2 separate regions of the Homo sapiens genome follow, and region 2 is linked to region 1. The links are contacts of gene promoters, found by promoter capture Hi-C in human tissues and cell types (Jung and others, 2019). All regions are on one chromosome and are shown on one strand. The core of a region is centred on a gene start or on the middle of the fragment in contact, and the rest is flanking DNA. Distances in the headings are between cores, read along the strand shown. Region 1 holds the start of LAT2 (linker for activation of T cells family member 2). Region 2 overlaps LIMK1 (LIM domain kinase 1).

The links. The method cuts DNA at HindIII sites, captures the fragments that hold promoters and counts their contacts. A contact is called where the count stands out against the background at its distance.
Region 2: a fragment that was not itself captured here is called in contact with the fragment with the promoter of LAT2 in region 1 in 4 of the 25 tissues and cell types used here (aorta, dorsolateral prefrontal cortex, lymphoblastoid cells and 1 more).

Annotation. Positions count from the first base shown.
Region 1 is chr7:74,208,423-74,211,449 of GRCh38, reverse strand. It overlaps LAT2 (linker for activation of T cells family member 2), which reads right to left and starts at 1,444. Exons shown (of 14, transcript NM_032464.3): 1 at 1,362-1,444. RefSeq lists silencers at 321-410, 1,521-1,570 and enhancers at 511-630, 1,851-1,960. The HindIII fragment of the contact is 33,709 bases long and covers 1-3,027 here.
Region 2 is chr7:74,087,107-74,090,133 of GRCh38, reverse strand. All of the region lies in intron 2 of LIMK1 (LIM domain kinase 1), which reads right to left. Among named protein-coding and RNA genes, the nearest start is that of LIMK1, 4.8 kb to the right of the region's middle. The HindIII fragment of the contact is 4,301 bases long and covers 1-3,027 here.

The DNA.
Region 1 (3,027 bases), core at 195-2,694:
AAAAATTAGCCAGGTGTGGTAGCACGTGCCTGTAGTCCCCAGCTACTTGGAAGGGTAAGGCAGGAGAACTGCTTGAACCTGGGAGGTGGAGGTTGCAGTGAGCCGAGATCACGCCACTGCACTCCAGCCTGGACAACAGAGTGAGACTCCGTTTAAAAAAATTCTGTGCTCTCTCTCTGTCTCTGTCTCCCTTTGTGTCTCTGTCTCGCTCTCACTTTCACTCTCCCATCCAGGTTCTGAAAGCAGGTGGGCTGAGGTGGAGGGAGCGGAGGGTGGACCCTCTGAGGCCCCCAGGGGCCGGCAGGGCTGGGCGGGGTGGGGAGTGGGGGCTGCCACAGACCACGGTTCTGCAGAGGCCAAAATAGCACTAAAGGGAAGTGGGCAGTTTTCATATGAACAACGATTGCCAAGAGCTGGCTTCGGGGAAGTTCTCGGGGCTGGGCTGGAGGAGCTACAGTGTCTGAATCCCGCCTGGAAGGACGCTCGAGACCACCCTGCCGGTTCTCCCAGCCTTCTCCGAGCTGAGCTGTGGTTGGGGACACTGGGGTTGGGGAGGGGGCAGCCTGGCTTGAAGCCCTGGATGGCTTTATCCACTGGACTCTGCTCTGGGGTCTGTTGGTTTTTTCATTTAGTTTTTAATTATATTTTTTTATTTTTATTTTTTAAAGAGATGGGAGTCTCACTATGTTGCTCAGGCTGGTCTCCAGCTCCTGACTTCAAATGATCCTCCCGCCTTGGCCTCCCCAAATGCTGGGATTACAGGTTGAGCCACCGTGCCCGGCTGGTCCTGTTGCTTTTTCCAAATAACTCTGGGCTTCAAATGAGCCTAGCTGGGAGGGAGAGAGGGAGGCGGGCGGGTGCAGGAGGGGCCTGAGCAGCCCTGGTCCCAGGGACAGAGTTGAGGGCCAGGTAGGGGGCTGGGCAGGGAGGCAGTGGGGGTTCTTCACCTGACCTGGGGCAAGACCTGGGCCCTGGCCTGTAATCCCACCGTTTTCCCCTGACCTGTGTAGGGGGTTACAGTCCCATTTCACGGATGAGGAAACCGAGGCTCCCAGGCCAGGGCAGCCACTGTTTTGGCTCTCGGCCACTTACTTCACCAGTCTCTGGCAATGATGGGACCACCCTGGGATGTCCCAAGGCTACACAGGCTGGACAGGGGAAGGCGAGGGCAAGAGAGTGGCCAGAAGCCCAGAAACAAACTGACCCCTGAAGTGCCACAGAGCCTGGTGCCAGGGTGAGAGTGGGGCTGCGGGAGGGGGCGCCAGGCATCCAGGCCTCTTCCCACCCCACCCAGTGGGGCCAGGAGCTCCTGGGGGATGGGGGACAGCCTGAGGACTGAGGCACCCCTGGGAAAGGCTTACCTGAGAGTCCAGGGTTCCTCACCACGGCCGCCCCATCCTGAGCCCGCACACCTGCCCAAGCTGATGCCAACACCACTGACACTGGCGGGCGGGCAGGGCGGGCTTCCTGCCAGCCACTGAATCATCCGTACATCCGCCGCACTGCCGGACAGGCTCAGCTATGAAGAGGGCGGTGGGGGGAAGGGAGGGGAGACGGGGGAAGGAGGCGGGAGAGAGAGAGAGAAGAGAAACAAAGTGAGAGGGAGAAAGAGAAGAAAGAGAGATAGGACCGGGCGAGGTGGCTCACACCTGTAATCCAAAAACTTTGGGAGGCCGAGGCGGGTGGATCACGTAAGGTCAAGAGTTTAAGACCAGCCTGGCCAACATGGTGAAACCCCGTCTCTATTAAAAATACAAAATTAGCTGGGCATGGTGGCATGTGTCTGTAATTCCAGCTACTCGGGAGGCTGAGGCAGGAGAATCGTTTGAACCTCAGAAGCAGAGGTTGCAGTGAGCCGAGATCGCACCACTGCACTCCAGCCTGGGTGACAGAGGGAGACTCCGTCTCAAAAAACAGAAAGAAAAAGAGAGAGACACAGCAGAGAGACACAAGAGAACAGGAAAATATGGACACACACTAAACACACACATAAACACAAAAAGTCACACAGAGAGGAAGAGAGATACACTCCAATAGACAGGGAGCAAGATAATGAAACTGAGGTGCTCCTGCAGATGGCAGATATGGAGACACACATACGCTAAAAAGACACACACAGGCAGAAATTCACACCCATGGGCCGGGCGCGGTGGCTCATGCCTGTAATCCCAGCACTTTGGGAGGCCAAGGCAGGCAGGTCATGAAGTCAGGGGTTCAAAACCAGCCTGACCAACATGGTGAAACCCCATATCTACCAAAAATACAAAAATTATCTGGGTGTGGTGGCGGGTGCCTGTAATCCCAGCTACTCGGGAGGCTGAGGCAGGAGAATTGCTTGAACCCAGGAGGTGGAGGTTGCAGTGAGCCAAGATAGCGCCACTGCACTCCAGCCTGGGTGACAGAGCAAGACTTCATCTCAAAAAAAAAAAAAAAAAGAAGAAGACACACACAGGCAGAAATTCATACCCATGGGCCAGGCACGGTGGCTCATGCCTGTAATCCCAACACTTTGGGAGGCTGAAGCAGGAGAATCACCTGAGGTCTGGAGTTCAAGACCAGCCTGGCCAACATGGTGAAACCCCATCTCTACAAAAAATTTAAAAATTAGCTGGGCATGAGATGGACCAAGACACACACAGAGAGACACACAGAAAGATACAGAGAGCCACAGACTGTCAGAGACACACACAGATGGGGAGAGAGCAAGAAACAGGGAGATAGAGGCCAGGTGCAGTGGCTTGCACCTGCAATCCTAACATTTTTGGAGGCTGAGGCAGGAGGATCGCTTGAGAACAGGAATTTGAGACCAGCCTGGACAACAGAACGAGACCCCATCTCTAAAAAAATTTTTTTAATTAGCTGGGTGTGGTGGCACACACCTGTAGTCCCAGTGTTTTGGGAGGCCAAAACGGGAGGATTTCTTGAGCCCAAGAGTTGGAGGCTGCAGTGAGCCGTGACTCTGCCACTGCACTCCAGCCTGGGGGACAGCAAGACCCTGTCTGTCTGTAAAAACAATAAATAGGCCGG
Region 2 (3,027 bases), core at 208-2,707, 120 kb after region 1:
CAAAGTGCTGGGATTACAGGCGTGAGCCACTGCACCTGGCTTCCTTCTTGAGTTTCACTACACCAGGGACAGCACAAACATGCCTCCTCTTTACTGCCCTGACCTGGGGACTCACCCCTCTCCTGGTGAGTGATTTGGGACAGGCCACTCCAAAGCCAGGTACACCCATCCTGTAACACGGCTTCCCTCCTGTGGCTTCTGTGGCTCTACTCCTGACCCTCTCTCCATCACCCAAGGCTCCATCTCCCCCCTCACCGCAGACACAGGGGTCCCCAAAGTTCTTCCCTTCATTCGTCTTGGCCCTATCACAAATCCCACTCACCATCTCAGGGCCAGCTCCGAGGCGGCCGTTTTTTCTGACTTTCCTACCTCCAACTGGACTCAGGCTCCCATGGCTAGCTCTGGGCAGGACACAGCCACCATGGATAGCCCATGTCCCCTCCAGCTCAACACAGATGAGCATGTCTCCTCCCCAACATGACCCCCAATTCCATCAGAGTCAACAAACCACCAACTCCCCAGTGCCCAGGTTAGAAAACCAGATGGCTTCAGGTTCCACCCTGCCATTCGCCAGTGCCCATGCCCTCCCCGAAGCCCCTGTCTTTTTCTTTCTTCCTTTCTTTCTTTTTTTTGAGATGGGATTTCACTCTGTCACCCAGGCTGGCTTGCAGTGGTGTGATCATAGCTCACTGCAACCTCCACCTCCCAGGCTCAAGCAACCCTCCCATGTCAGCGCCCTTGAGTAGCTGGGACTACAGGCACCACCACCATGCTCAGCTAATTTTTTTGTAGAGACAAGGTTTCACTATGTTGCCCACACTGGTCTCAAACTCCTGGGCTCAAGAGATCCACCTGCCTCCGCCTCCCAAAGGGCTGGGATTATAGGCATGTGCCACCGCCAGCCCCTGCCTTTCCTACTCTGTGGCGATGTGGAGTGAGAAGGTTTTAGTCCCAGCTCTAGATGTTACAACCTTCAGCGAGGCACTTGATTGCATGGAATCTCTGTTTCTCCCATGCAAACTGGGCACATACAGTCCCTCATAGAGTTATGATGAAGATTTAACAAATTAGCATGAAGAGTGCTCAATGCATGGTAGCCAATATGACAAATACTCACCAAAAACTGTCCCTTCTGCCTGAAATTCTCTCCATCCTCAGTCACTGTCCCAGGTCAGGTCCTATGAGCTCAGACCCTTGAGTTACTGGGACAGTCCCTTCCCTGCCTAGATACCACCACCGGCCCACTGGGATGGCATTCTTCAACAGCATGTCACCCCAGCCCCTCCCTGGCTTTCTGCCGACTCCCTTCTATTTTTTTTTTTTTTTTTTTTTGAGATGGAGTCTCGCTCTGTCTCCCAGGCTGGAGTGCAGTGACGTGATCTCAGCTCACTGCAGCCTCCGCCTCCCAGGTTCAAGTGATTCTCCTTCCTTAGCCTCCCGAGTAGCTTGGATTACAGTCATGTGCCACCATGCCTGGCTAATTTTTGAATATTTAGTAGAGACGGGGGTTTCACCACGTTGGCCAGGCTGGTCTCAAGCTCCTGGGGTCAAGTGATCTGCCTGCCTCGGCCTCCCAAAGTGCTGGGATTACGGGGATGAGCCACCACCCCCATCCTGACTTCTGAAACTCCTTATCTTGGCATTCAAGGCCCTTCACGAATCGGTCTCAACTTTGTTTCTTGTTGGATCCCTCAGCTTATTCTGTTCCTTCCAAGGGAACTGTTCCTGTTCCCTCAGCAGTCCGCACCATCCCACCGCTGTGCAGATGGTTTCCTCTGCCTGTTGAGAGCCCTCTTGCCCCCCGAAGGCCTCTTTCTGAGCACCTGATGCAGAATCCCAGGGCATGCTGTCTGTCTCCTTTCAGCCACACTGAGTGTGTTCATTTCACTCACTGGCTGTGTGACTTTCATCAAGAGAATTAACCTCTCTGTGTCCCAATTTTCTCTCTGGCAAAACAAAGACAGCACTAATATCTAACTATGCAAAGTACTTAGAACAGGGGTTGTCCCTTACTGAATGTTAGAAAACGTTAGACGTTATTCCTAAAAAAGAAAAAACAGGCTGGGCATGGTGGCTTATGCTTGTAATCCCAGCACTTTGGGAGGCTGAGTCAGAAGGATCGCTTGAACCAGTTGGAGCTGGAGGCTACAGTGGGCTATGATCTCACCACTGCACGCCAGCCTGGGTGACACAGCAAGACCCTGTGTAAAAAAAAAGAAAAGAAGAAACAAAAAAACAAACCGAGGCCAGGTGCAGTGGCTCATGCCTGTAATTCCAGCATTTTGGGAGGCTGAGGCGGGCAGATCACTTGAGGTCAGGAGTTCGAGACCAGCCTGGCCAACATGGCAAAACCCTATCTCTACTGAAAATACAAAACTTAGCCGGGCGTGGTGGTGCACACCTGTAATCCCAGCTACTTGGGAGGCTGAAGCAGGAGAATCGCTTGAACCTGGGAGGCGGAGGTTGCAGTGAGGAGGGATCGCGCCACTGCTCCCCAGCCTGGGCGACACAACAAGACTGTCTCAAAAAAACCAAAAACCAAAAAATAAACCAAGGCAGAAGCCTAAAATAAAGTCCTAGTGGTGGATGTCTTGACCCCTGCTGGGCATCCCAGAAGCTTCACCTTCTACCCTTTTATGGAGTTTTCTCCCCTGAACCTTGCTGTTTGGTGACTATGCCTGTAATTCTCTCCCACACCATTTGTTTTTCTTTCTTTCTTTTTTAAAAATTGAGACTGGGTCTCGCTCTATTGCCCAGGCTAGAGTGCAGTGGTGCGATCATAGCTCACTGCAGCCTCCACCTCCCAGGCTCAAGTAACCCTGCCACCTCAGCCTCTTGAGTAGCTGGGACTACAGGCATGCGCCACCACGCCCGGCTAATTTTTTGTATTTTCAGTGGAGACAGGGTGTTGCCATATTGCCCAGGCTTGTCTCGAACTCCTGAACTCAAGTGATCTGCCCACCTCAGCCCCAAAAAGTGATGGGATTATAGGTGTGAGCCACCACGCCCCACCTCCACTCTACTTTT